Linked DNA regions of Homo sapiens: regions 1 and 2 are each linked to region 3. The links are contacts of gene promoters, found by promoter capture Hi-C in blood cells and fetal thymus (Javierre and others, 2016). All regions are on one chromosome and are shown on one strand. The core of a region is centred on a gene start or on the middle of the fragment in contact, and the rest is flanking DNA. Distances in the headings are between cores, read along the strand shown. Region 1 overlaps UBA1 (ubiquitin like modifier activating enzyme 1). Region 2 holds the start of TIMP1 (TIMP metallopeptidase inhibitor 1). Region 3 holds the start of ZNF157 (zinc finger protein 157).

Evidence for each region. Contacts are between HindIII fragments. The CHiCAGO score rates a contact against its expected background, and 5 or more counts as called.
Region 1: a contact is called between a fragment that was not itself captured here and the fragment with the promoter of ZNF157 in region 3, in 4 of 17 cell types (fetal thymus, total B cells, naive B cells and 1 more). The highest score is 6.3, in fetal thymus.
Region 2: the fragment with the promoter of TIMP1 here is called in contact with the fragment with the promoter of ZNF157 in region 3 in 4 of 17 cell types (non-activated CD4 T cells, naive B cells, activated CD4 T cells and 1 more); the score reaches 7.0 in non-activated CD4 T cells.

The regions. Positions count from the first base shown.
Region 1 is chrX:47,210,468-47,214,821 of GRCh38, reverse strand. UBA1 (ubiquitin like modifier activating enzyme 1) reads right to left here. Exons shown (of 26, transcript NM_003334.4): 19 at 3,906-3,980; 20 at 3,597-3,786; 21 at 2,310-2,398; 22 at 1,959-2,051; 23 at 1,641-1,832; 24 at 394-495; 25 at 185-285; 26 at 1-28. The region is part of intron 2 of LOC105373194 (a long non-coding RNA gene); the gene reads left to right. Among named protein-coding and RNA genes, the nearest start is that of CDK16, 6.0 kb to the left of the region's middle. The HindIII fragment of the contact is 8,666 bases long and covers 1-4,354 here.
Region 2 is chrX:47,580,136-47,584,769 of GRCh38, reverse strand. TIMP1 (TIMP metallopeptidase inhibitor 1) reads right to left here and starts at 2,334. Exons shown (of 6, transcript NM_003254.3): 1 at 2,296-2,334; 2 at 1,234-1,362. The coding sequence starts at 1,354. All of the region lies in intron 5 of SYN1 (synapsin I), which reads left to right. RefSeq lists silencers at 2,377-2,476, 2,537-2,686. The HindIII fragment of the contact is 9,422 bases long and covers 1,502-4,634 here.
Region 3 is chrX:47,368,765-47,372,748 of GRCh38, reverse strand. It overlaps ZNF157 (zinc finger protein 157), which reads right to left and starts at 2,171. Exons shown (of 4, transcript NM_003446.4): 1 at 2,009-2,171. The coding sequence starts at 2,080. The HindIII fragment of the contact is 3,930 bases long and covers 1-2,621 here.

The DNA.
Region 1 (4,354 bases), core at 1,331-3,830, 160 kb after region 3:
CGACACACGGCTCACAATCTCTGTCATCCTGGGGATAGGGGGATGGGAGTATAGGGTCAGGAGGGCAGAAAGCAAGAGAGGATGGGCAGGTAGGTAGGGGCAGTGAACTGGAGTGGGACAGCTGGATGATGAGGCTCCCCAACCCATACAGGGCCTCCCCTAGCCTGGCCAGTGTCCAACTCACGGCTGATCCAACCGTTCCTTGAGCTTGGCAGCTGGCATGAAGAAGGAATAGAGCATGGACACGCCCTGGGACAGCATGGTGATCTCTAATTTGTGCTCTGTCTGGAGAGGGAGGGGGAACAGCAGGGTCATGGAGGTGGACAGGCCAGCAAGTCACCGTGTACACCTCGCCCCCTGAGGTGGGGTGACAGAGTAAGGGAGGGGCCTTACCTTAAAATAGTCGAGGAACTGTTTGAGGGTCATCTCCTCACCATTAGGCTGCAGCCCTTGTACCTCAAAGCGATCCCACAATGTCCACTCTTGGTTATAGTACTGCAAGACAAAGAGGGGAGTGTAAGATGGAGACCATCCCAGAGGGTCCAGCCCCCATCTGTCTCCATCCCCCCTACCCCCATGCAGACGTGTTTAGTCAGATCACAACCCTCTTTTGTTCGAAATCCTCTTGTGGTTCCTATCTCACCCTAAGCAATGAAATTCTGTTTTCTTCTCATCTCCTACCCTCCTCAATCTCACACTCACTCTGGGGACTTTGAATTCCTCCAACTTGCCAGGCACACCCCTATCTTGGTACCCTTTCAAGAACTGGTCCCTCTGCCTGGAATGTGTCCCCACTCGCCACCAAGCCTGCACAGTTTGTCCCCTTACATCCTCCAAGTCTGATCTCAAATGTCATCTTTTCAGCAAGGCCTTTTCTGACCATCCTACACAAAATCTCAAATACATCCCCTCGCCCCCTGGTATTCTCAAGTCCTCTTTATCTTTTTTTTTTTTTGAGATGCAGTCTCGCTCTGTCACCCAGGCGGGAGTGCAATGGCGCCATCTTGGCTCACTGCAACCTCCGCCTCCCGGGTTCAAGTGATTCTCTTGCCTCAGCCTCCCGAGTAGCTGGGATTACAGGTGCCTACCACTACGCCTGGCTAATTTTTTGTATTTTTAGTAGAGACAGGGTTTCATCATGTTGGCCAGGCTGGTCTCAAACTCCTGACTTCAGGTGAACCACGTGCCTCGGCCTCCCAAAGTGCTGGGATTACAGGCGTAAGCCACCACGCCCGGCCTCTTTTTATCCTTTTTTGATTCCAAAATCATTTAATAGGTTATTTATATAATCTACTTGAGGAACATAACTTAGAAGAGTCCCTGCACACAAAAGGTGCTCAATAAATATTTGAGTGAATTCATTAATGAAGCAAGCAAAGCACTTAAGTGTAGGAAGCGTCCAATAAATTTTGGCTGCCATTATTGTGTAGTTACTAATAATCTCCCAGGGCACAATTCAAATATCCCATCTTTTCGCACGTACTCAAATAATGTGATTAATGAATAAGTGAAAAAGGATACACAAAAAGGGTAGGTACACAGACAGAAACCCTCACCTGGTGACAGGGTATGACGTGAATCAGAACCAGATCTACACAGATACACCCCACCCAAACCCTGCTTCGGATGCAGGCCCCCACCTGGTGACGTGGTGCGGCAAGGGGTTCAGAGAAACCAAAGAAAGGCAGGGCCAAGTTGAGGAAACCATTCTTGTAGGAGTCAAGCTGTCGGTGCCCCTGCACAACCTTGTACAGCTCCAGACACACAAGGCCAACCACGGCTGCTGTGGTCGTGGCAATGGCTGGGATGATCTTCCCTGCAATCAGCTTGCTCTGAGAGACAGAAGGGACAAAAGAAGGTGGTAGTTAAGTACAAGAGCCTCAGGGTCTACAGAGGGGCTAAGTGTGGGTAACTCAAACCTGGAGGAGGGTGGAACATCAGATTTAGATTCCCCTCACCTTGTGCCGGTCTGCAGAAGGAATGTCATAGTTTTCTGCCCGGAGGTTGGATGCAGCCACGATGAAATCCATATGAAAGTTGCTGTCATCATCCTGTTATGAGTGGGGAGGGTGTGAAGGCAGTGGGGAGAGGATCAGATAAAGAAGATGTGTATCCTCCACTGCAATTGCCTGCTGGACTCTCCCAGATCACAAAGGGATGGCTGGGAACACCTACTCATTCAGAGCCATATGGCAGGCCCACAATCTGATCCCCACAAAGGCCCGGGGCTGGCTCCAGATACTCCTGTTTTCTCCAGCCTGTCTATGCTTTGCCCATCCTCCTTCCCTGTCCTGAGCCCCACCCCATACCTTCTCAAAGTCAATGGGGTACATCTTGAATCCAGGGAGCTTGTCTGGGCTGGGCAGAGTGGCTTTGAGCTCCTCTAGACGACTGTCATCTGCATGAAGAAAGGGACACTGTCAGCCCTTTAGATCCCAGGCTAAGGTCTGAGATGGAAATGAGAGCCCAGGGTGGGGCAAAAGGTATTCAGGTACAAAAAGGATTTGGAAAGGAGAGACATCCTGGGAGAGAAAAGGGGCAAGGAGGAGAGGTAGAGCAGAGCAGAATACAAACCTGAAAAACACAGAGAAAGAGCTGAGGCTATCAAGAATGATCTCTCTAGAGACACTAAGGAACGGAAATGAAAATGTTAGGAGAAAGTGGAGATGGAGAGATCAAGATGGGAGACGTAAAGATCTTGGGAAGAATGATGTAGAGCAAGATGGGGGGAACACAGAGGATACAGGGAGGAAAAGGGGAGTAAAAAAGATATATGGAGGGGAAGTTGGGGGGAATACACAGATGTGGACATAGAGGAAAGATATGGGGGGAGATGGAGAAGATATAAAAGGGGGAGAGTGGGGGTATATACAGAGGGCGAGGCAGGTGGGAGGAGAAAGATGGAAGAAATATATGAAGGTGATGAGAGCTATGGAAGGAAAGATTGGAAGACATACATAAAGGAACATGAAGGAGTAGACATTTCAGAAGGAAGATGGGGACCATGGAAGGGGAAATGGGAGGAGATCTATGGAGAGGAAGACGGGGGAGATATAAGGAAGGTAAATGTAGGGGGCGTTACAGAGCTACAGAAGCATCATATACAGAAGGGAGGGGTGGTGAAAAAATATGCAGATGGGGTGGGGTGGGGGTGTCAGTAAACCGCAGCCCCAAACTATGGAGGGTGAAGATGCACAGAGAAACATGCAGGTAGATGTACAGATGGGGGCGGATCTGGAAGGAGACAAGGCAGGAAAGTATCAAGGGAGAGAGACTGCTGGTAGAGATCATACCTCCTAGATGAACAGATCAAGAAGAAACAGAAGAAAGAACAAAACTAAGGGAAATACACAGAGCAAGAGTAAAACAGCAAGTTCTCCTGAGGGCCAGATAGTGGGAAGGAGGAGGAGGGAGGGAGATAATTTGCCCCAACCTACCCTCTTCATGTCAAAGGGAGGCTCAAAGGAAGGTGTGGGTAAACCTCAGGCCTGGGGTCACAGAGCAGAGCAGAACCAGGGGTAGAGGACTGGTGGGGAGGCTGGACTAGGCCGGGGACATGTGGGGTGACTCCTGGCCAACTGGCCAAACACCCTCACCAACAGAGGCATTGGCGCTCTGCAGCTCCTGGTCAGAAACATGGATCTTGACGCCAGACTTGGGGGTGAATTCGGGGACCTGCACAGACTGCAGGAATGTGGCCACAGCAGCTCGGTCCTGAGAGCCTGTCAGCCCGTAGGTCTGGGCAAACAGGTTGGCAGCAGCCATCACATAGTCCAGATGCAGGGGCTAGGAGAAGGCAGGGCAGGGAAGGGTGAGCACATCAGCCCTCGAGTGGGGAGCCGCCACCTCCTTCCCACCTATTCACCCTCCACCTGACCCCAGAAGACCCTAGAAAGGAGACTTACATTGTTGACATCAAAGGTGAGCGGGTGTGGACAGCGTTTGGGCCCAGACCAGAACGGCGCTCCTGAGCTTGTGAGCTAAGGGATGGAGAGATTTTTGAGAACAGGACCTGAGAGTGAAGGCCTCTCTGACAATCTTCACGCTTCACCTAGGCCCCAGATGTGCCCCCAATTCACTATCTTGGGTTGGGCACTCGATGCGGACTGGAGCCAATCACAAAATACCTCAACTGTAGGGTCCCACAGGTTGAACCAGAGATCTGGCTGAGAGAACAATTACCAATCACTGGGTAGCCATTTTGTGCTAAACAGCCCATCATTTAACAAACTCTCATGGATTACCAGGCATTGTACTAACTTCATTTTAATAAATACCAGTTAATCCTCCCCAAACCCCCCATGAGATAGATCACTATTATTTCTACTTCACAGACGAGGAAACTGAGGTACAG
Region 2 (4,634 bases), core at 1,085-3,584, 210 kb before region 3:
TATGTTGAGTGTCTCTCTTTGCCGGGCACTGCTTAAGCCATTTTCATACATTGATTTGTTCATTTACTCCTCAAATATTTGGGAGTGCCCACTGTGTGCCAGACATTGTTCTGGGTGTTAGGGACACAACAGTGAACAAAACACAGAAATCCCTTTCCTTGTGGAGTTCACATTCTAGCCAGGAGGAGACAGGCTAAGAACAAACAAAATAAGGATATGGAATGTTAGACATTAAGTATAATGGGGAATTACAGACCTGGGTAAGGGGCTGACAAAGATTCTTTGCTTGACCAAACTTTACTCAGGCTCCTGAACCTCCTCCTAGGCCCATCTGTGCACTTCCTTGTAAAATCCAGTTTTAGCCGAGAGCCTTGCTAAGTCAGTTTAGCAAGAACCCCTATATTCTATATCTGATCATCCTCAATCTCTGATCATCCTCAATACCTGATCATCCTCAATCTCTGATCATCCTCAATACCTGATCATCCTCAATCTCTGATCATCCTCAATACCTGATCATCCTCAATCTCTGATCATCCTCAATCTCTGATCATCCTCAATACCTGATCATCCTTGCTATCTGACTGGGTTCTTCATCTTCCACCATCCCCCAGGTGATGTCTGATTCCCCTTGGCCTGCCTTCAGCAAGAATCCTGTTACGTCGGTTTAGCCAGAATCCCCCTTACCCCTGATGTTTCTTCTTAGTAATTTCCACCCACAGACCCTCACACTGCTCCTTAGCTACACATTCCCACTGGCCCATGCTATATTCAGTGTTGAGCCCAATCTCTCCCACCGACTGCAAGATCCCATTGCAGTGGTTCCTATACCCATCACCATGGTCCTGAATATGGTCTTCCTTACTGTGTTATAACAAGTATCACTGAATATTTTTCTGTTTAACAGGAGATCAGGAGTACTAAGGGGCAGGGGTTAAAATTTTAAACAGGATGGCCAGGGAAGGCCATCCTGAGAAGGTGACGTTTGAGGCAGCCACCCATGTGGATACCTGGGGGGAAAGTGTACCAGGCAGAGGGAGCAGCCAGCATGCAGATCCTGTGGTGGGCTTGGGCACAGAGTACTCAAGGAAGTGTGAGGATGCCAGTGTGGCTAAAGCAGAGGAAGTGCAGGGGCGAGTGGAATCATTCTAGAGGTAAGTGCCATGGTGAGCCCCACTGGACTGAAAGGGAAACCAAGGCAGAGTGTGTGGGCTGAGTGGGGTGAGGACTCACCGAGGTCGGAATTGCAGAAGGCCGTCTGTGGGTGGGGTGGGACACAGGTGCAGGCCCTGCTGGGGGCTATCAGCCACAGCAACAACAGGATGCCAGAAGCCAGGGGCTCAAAGGGGGCCATGGTGGGTTCTGTGGGGAAGGGGGATGTCAGGCAGGCCCCGGCCCAGCTGATCTGCTGACCTGGGCAGGTCATCCACCCCATCTTGCCCCGGGGCAGCCTATGGGGGGGATTAGGGGGCTGGATTTGGGCTTGAGGGGTTGGTAAGCTTAGGGATTTTAAGGGGATTGGGGAGCGCAGAGGAATTTAGGGTTTAGAGAGTTGGGAGAGTTTAAATTATTGAGGGACTGAGTGAGTTGCGGGGTTATGGGGTTGTGGCACTTGGGGGAGAAGGGGGCTGAGGAAGTTTGAGGAATGAGGGGATTGGGGAATTCTGGAGGTTGAGGAGTTTGGGGGTGAGGAATTTGGGATTGGGGGCTGGAGGAGTTTGGAGACGGCAGAGTTTAGGGGTTGTGTATATTAAGAGATATAAGAGGCTGGGGGAATTTAGGGAGGTTGAGGAATTTGGAGGAGGTTGGGGGTTTAGGGAGCTGGGGGAGTTTGGAGGTTGAAGGGGTTGGGGGAATTTGGGGGCTTAAGGCAATGGGGATACTTGAGGAATTTGAGGGCAAAAGAAGTTTGGGAGCTGGGGAACTGGGGATTGGGGAGCTGGGGGAGTTTAGGGAGCTGCAGGGGTTAGCGGTGGGTATTTAGGGGGCGATGAGGGAAATTTCGGGATGAAGGAATTTGCGGGGGGATTTGGAAAGCATTTGTGATATTAGGGGGTCATGGGTTTGGGGGAATTGGGGGCGGATGTCAGGGGTTCTAGGGAGTTTGGAGCCTCGGGGTTGGGAAAGCAGTTCCAGCCTCCGACCCTCTTCCCCCTAGACTAGCCCAGGGTCCTGGTACCCGCAGGCCAAGCTGAGTAGACAGGCATCTGGCACGGGAGTGCACGGGCCTGGTGGCCAGCACCCAAGCTGCAGCCCAGCTCCGGTCCCTGCTGGGCCACCCCGGGCCCTGCTTACCTCTGGTGTCTCTCTGGGCGCTGGATCTGCGGCGATGGCGGCAGGGCCTGAGCGCTAGAGGATAAATGTCCACGCTAGGGGCGGGGGTGGCAGCGGGTGCGGAAACCACAGGCCTCCAGGCTTCCTGGATGCATTACTCATCCACCCACCATCAGTGCAGAAGCCAAGGGGCGGGCCGACGAAAGGAGATACACCCTCCTCCTCTCCCACCCGCCTCCTCTCCCTCTCCCTGGGCCTCGCCCGGGCCAGCCACCTCCCCCACCTCCACGTCAGTCACTATTCCTTCCAAGCCGCCTCAGCGGAGAGCTTAGAGGCCGCATTTCCCCCGGCCCAGTCCCCTAAAGTCTCCAGAATCTATCCAATCACCCACATCCCCCAAGCTCCCTATGACTCAAACCCAAATTAGTTCAGCCCTTCAACATTTATTGTGCATCTACTGTGTGCCAAGCACACAAAAATCCCTTGTTTTGTATGTCTGACATGCTGGTGAGGGGTGGCAGAGAGGAAACAAATTAAGTAGCAGCAGTGGAGGGAGATAAGGCAGGTGAAAGGGGAGGAATACAAAATGGGGAAACTGAGGCACGGAGTGGTTAAGTGACTTACCCAGGATCACAGAGTCAATACATGGCAGAACTGAGACTGGAACTCAGGTGGCCAGGAGCCAAAGCCAGGGTCTCAAATAACACAGGCAAATAGCCGGCATTTATACAGCACCTACTGTATACCAGGCACTCAGCATAGTTTATCTCACTCAAAGCTCACAACAAATCTCTGAGATGGGTACCGGTTCTTATTCCCGTTTTACGGATGAGGAAATATGGGGCGTAGAGGAACTGTAGAATTTTCCTAAGATCACAGGGCATGGCCGGGATTCAAACAGAGGCTACCTGGCACCAGGGTTGTAACTCAGGAGTGGCACCGTCCTAGCAAGCAGGGAATGGTGCGGGTGAATGAATGAGCATTGGGAAGGGGGTGGCCATGAATGATGGTGAAAGAAGCAAGTGAGTGGGTCAGTAGAAAACTAATCCCCACCCCATCCTGCCCTGCCCCCTCCCCATGGACCTGTACCCCTGGTGGGGGGTGGGGTGGGGCAATCCTTGCCCACCAGCTTTCTGACAATGCAGGAACCTTCCCTGGGGTTCTGATTAACATCCTTAATTCGAGGAGGATAGATCAATAATAATAATTGTAGTGATGATGGCAGCCACTTATTGAGCACTTTCTGTGTACTATGTGCTAAAGTGTTTGTATAAATTATCTCATTCACTCACCATACTCCCTTGCTAATTAAGTTTGATTAACTCAGGGATGATAGCCCAATAACAAGAACACAACAAAAACTACCAGCAGCCCTTATGGAGTGCTTACTGCGTATCCAGCACTATTCTGGGTGGGAGGAATGTGAGGGATGAGAAATTGCCTAATGGGTACAATGTACACTATTTGGTTGATGGGGACACTAAAAGCCCAGACTTCACCACTATGTAATATATCCATGTCACAAAACTGCAGCTGTACCCTCTAAATCTATTTTTTTTTTTTGACAAGAGTCTTGCTCTGTCACCTAGGCTGGAGTGCAGTGGCGCGATCTCAGCTCACTGCAACCTCCGCCTCCGGGGTTCAAGAGATTCTCCTGTCTCAGCCTCCTGAGTAGCTGGGATTACAGCCACACCACCACCACCCCCAGCTAATTTTTGTAGTTTTAGTAGAGACGGGGGTTTCACCATATTGGTCAGATCTCGAACTCCTGACTTCAGGTGATCCACCTGCCTCGACCTCCCAAAGTGTTGGGATTACAGGCGTGAGCCACCACACCCGGCCTTCTAAATCTTTTTTTTTTTTTTAGACAGAGTTTCGATCTTGTTTCCCAGGCTGGAGTGCAATGGCAAGATCTTGGCTCACTGCAACCTCCACCTCCTGGGTTCAAGCAATTCTCCTGCCTCAGCCTCCTCAGTAGCTGGGGTTACAGGCACACGCCACCACGCCTGGCTAATTTTTGTATTTTTAGTAGAGACGGGGTTTCACCATGTTGGCCAGGCTGGTCTCAAACTCCTGACCTCGGGTGATCCGCCCACCTCAGCCTCCCAAAGTGCTGCGATTACATGCGTGAGCTACGGCACCCAGCCTAAATCTATTTTTTAAGAAAGCACTTGGCCGGGCATGGTGGCTCACACCTGTAATCCCAGCACTTTGGGAGGCTGAGGCAGGCAGATCGCTTGAGCTCAGGAGTTCAAGACCAGTCTGGGCAACATGGTGAAACCCTGTCTCTATTTAAAAAAAAAAAAAAAAGCACTGTTCTAAAGTCTTTTTACAGACATTATCTCATTTAATCAATCCCG
Region 3 (3,984 bases), core at 922-3,421:
GCCAAGGCAGGTGGATCACCTGAGGTCGGGAGTTTGAGACCAGCCTGACCAACATGGAGAAACCTCATCTCTACTAAAAATACAAAATTAGCTGGGCGTGGTGGCATATGCCTGTGATCCCAGCTACTTGGGAGGCTGAGGCAGGAGAATCACTTGAATCCAGGAGGTGGAGTTTGCAGTGAGCCAAGATCACGCCATTGCACTCCAGCCTGTGCAACAAGAGCGAAACTCCATCTCAAAAAAAAAAAAAAAAAGAATACAAATAAATCACAGCCAAATAAAGAGATACATAGGGCAAGGCATGTGGGAAGGGGCCTGGAGTCTTCATGCGCTCTCTGGGTGCACCACCCTCCAGGAACCCCCATGTGTTCGGCTACCCAGAAGCTCTCCAGACTTTATCCTTTTGGGGCTTTAGGGGGGCTTCATTATGTAGGCATGATTGATTAAATCATTTGCCCTTGTGGATCGACTTGACTCTCAGCACCCTCTCCCCTCCCAGGTGGTTGGAGGGTCCCAACCCTCTAAACCTACCTTAGTCTTTCTGGTGACCAGCCCCATTCGGAAGCTGCCTAGGGACTGCCAGGCATCAGTCAACTCATTAGCATACAAAAAGACACTTTAGTACTTTAGAGATTCCGAGGATATTAGGAGTTGTTTGCCAGGAAAGACCAATTATATATTTCACAGTATCACACCCCTACAAAAACCTTACACAAACTATTATAGGATCTTTATTCATAATATCCAACAACTAGAAACAACCAAGATGTCTTTCAACCAGTGAATGGTTATACTGTTTGGTACATCCATGCGATGGAAAAGTATCAGCAATAAAAGGAATGGGCAGGGCACGGTGGCTTACGCCTGTAATCCCAGCACTTTGGGAGGCTGAGGCAGGTGGATCACGAGGTCAGGAGTTCAAGACCAGCCTGGCCAACATGGTGAAACCCCGTCTCTACTAAAGATACAAAAAATTAGCCAGGTGTGGTGGCACGCACTTGTAATACCAGCTACTCGGGAGGCTGAGGCAGGAGAATAGCTTGAACCCGGGAAGCAGAGGTTGCAGTGAGCCAAGATCACGCCATTGCAGTCCAGCCTGGGTGACAGGGCAAGACTCTGTCTCAAAAAAAATGAATGAACTATTGATATACTGTTAGCTATTGATATCTCCACAGAATTTTGCTGAATGACGAAAGCCAGTCCCAAAAGGTACATACTGTACAATCTGATTAATATAACAGTCTCTCTTTTTTGTCCTTTTTTTCCTTTTTGTGGAGAACAGGGTCTCACTATATTGCCCAGGCAGGTCTCAAACTCCTAGGCTCAAACTATCCTCCTGCTTCTGCCTCCCTAAGAGCTGGGATTACAGGCATGAGCTGCCATGCCCGGCAAATAAAACTTTTTTTTTTTTTTGAGACAGGGTCTCACTCTGTCACCCAGGCAGAGTGCAGTGGCACGATCTTGGCTTACTGCAACCTCCGCCTCCAGGTTCAAGCGATTTTCCGGTCTCAACCTCCCGAGTAGCTGGGAGTACAGGTGCGTGCCACAACACCTGGTTAATTTTTGTATTTTTAGTACAAACAGGGTTTCACTATGTTGGCCAGGCTGGTCTCAAACTCCTGGCCGCAAGTGATCCACCCGCCTCGGCCTCCCAAAGTGCTGGGATTACAGGTGACAGGCGTGAGCCACCACGTCCAGCCACAACATTCTTGAAATGAAAAAATTATAGTATTGGAGAACAGATTGGTGGTGCCCCAGGGTTAAGAGGGGAGTGATGGAGGAAGTGAAGTGGTTGTGTCTATTTAATGACAACATGGGGGATCCTTGTGGGGATGGAAATGCTCTGCATGTCAATATCCTGGGTATTACGAGATGTTACTACTGGGGACAAAAACTAGGTAAATGGTACATTGCATTTGAATCTACAATTATCTCAAAATATAAATTTAACTAAAAATAAATAAAAAAATAAAGAACATATAGAAAAAAATAGGATCCTCCTCCTTACCTCAAAAGATCTGCCAGGTTCTCCTGGAATCAGGGCAGGGAATCTCTGGGGTGATGTCCCATTAGCTGGCATGTTCACCCTGGGCCTCAGCCCACCTTCCGTGCTGGACAGCTGTCTGTGTGTAGAGGGTCCTGCAGCCTCCAGTAAGGGGTAAGGCTCAATGGCTCCACAGAGACACCAAGAAATCCTAAAAGGACAGTATCCATATCATCAGTGTCATCCCACATTCACGCCACAATGTTCAGCATCCCCAGAGCATGAGTCAAGGTGGATTACAAAATGATCAAATTTGGGGCCAAATTAATGAGCTTGGGGTCCCTTCTTGAGTGGCTCTACCAGGTGCTTCACTCGCTACTCAGCCAGCCTACACCTCAGTTCAAGTTCAAGGCAGATCTGGGTTTAGGAGAAGTAGAACTGGGGCAGTGCTTAAGGGTGCTTAAGGCCCATGGGGTGGGCAGGTTCAAGGGGACCTGGTGGGTGACTGTGAGGGCAGGAAACCTGGAAAGCTGATAATCTAAATGAAAGGAAATCGGCTGGTCCTTTCTTCTGCCGTCTTTTGTTTTTTTCCACTCTTAGATGAAATATCCCTCTTAAATTCTTTTACTGGGAAGCTTTTAGCCTCTTCTTTCCAGAAAAAAATGGTTCAATCTTAATAATGTTATGTATTTTTTCTTTTTTTTTTTTTTTTTTTTGAGATGGAGTTTCACTCTTGTCACCCAGGCTGCAGTGGAATGGTGCGATCTCAGCTCACAGCAACCTCCGCCTCCCAGGTTCAAGGGATTCTCCTGCCTCAGCCTCCCTAGTGGCTGGGATTACAGGCGCCCGCCACCACGCCCAGCTAATGTTTGTATTTTTAGTAGAGACGGGTTTTCACTATGTTGGTCAGGCTGGTCTCGAACTCCTGACCTCAAGTGATCCTCCCGCCTTGGCCTCCCAAAGTGCTGGGATTACAGGTGTGAGCCACTGCACCAGGCCTAATGTTATGTATTACATCAACAAATTACAGAGGGAAACACTCTGCTGTTAACTTACACCAAAAAAGCATCCAACGCAATTCAGCAGCCATTACTAATATAAGCTCAAACTAAAATCATGGAAAAAGTAAATAACTTAAGTGCCACAAAAATCAATTATGAAACATAACTCTGAAACACCATGCTAAAAAGTAAAATGATGAAGCTATTGCCACAAAATTAGTACTGTCTGCTATAACCCAAAATTGTTTTGTGGGCTCTAGCTCACACAAGAGAAGATGAAATAGAGTGGGCTGGGCACAGTGGCTCATGCCTGTAATCTCAGAACTTTGGGAGGCCAAGACAGGAGGGTTGCTTGAGTCCAGGAGTTCGAAACCAGCCTTGGCAACAAAGTGAGACGCTGTCTTTACAAGAAATAAAATAATCCGAGTGTGGTGGTCCACACCTGTAGTGCCAGCTACTAAGGAAGCTGAAGCAGAAGGATAGCTTAAGAAGCCTGAGAGGTTGAGGCTGCAGTGACCTCTGATGGCGCCACTGCACTCCAGCCTGGGTGACAGAGCAAGACTTTGTCTCTAAAAGAGAAAGAAAAAGAAAGAGAGAAAGAGAGAAAGAAAGAAAGAAAGAAAGAAAGAAAGAAAGAAAGAAAGAAAGAAAGAAAGAAAGAAAGAGAGGAAGGAAGGATGGAAGGAAGGAAGGAAGGAAGGAGGGAAGAAAGGAGAAAAGAAGAGAAAAGAAATAAATAATCAGGCCAGGTGCAGTGGCTCACGGCTTTAATCCCAACACTTTGGGAGGCCAAAGCAAGAGGATCCCTTGAGCCCAGGTGTTCAAAACTAACCTGGACAACATGGCAAAACCCAGTATCCTTAAAAAACAAACAAACAAACAAAAACACACACACAGAGTTGCAGTGCATTGAGATCACTCCACTACACTCCAGCCTGGATGACAGAGTGACACTTTGTTTCTATTAAAGAAAAAAAAAAGAGGCCAGAGGAGGCGGCT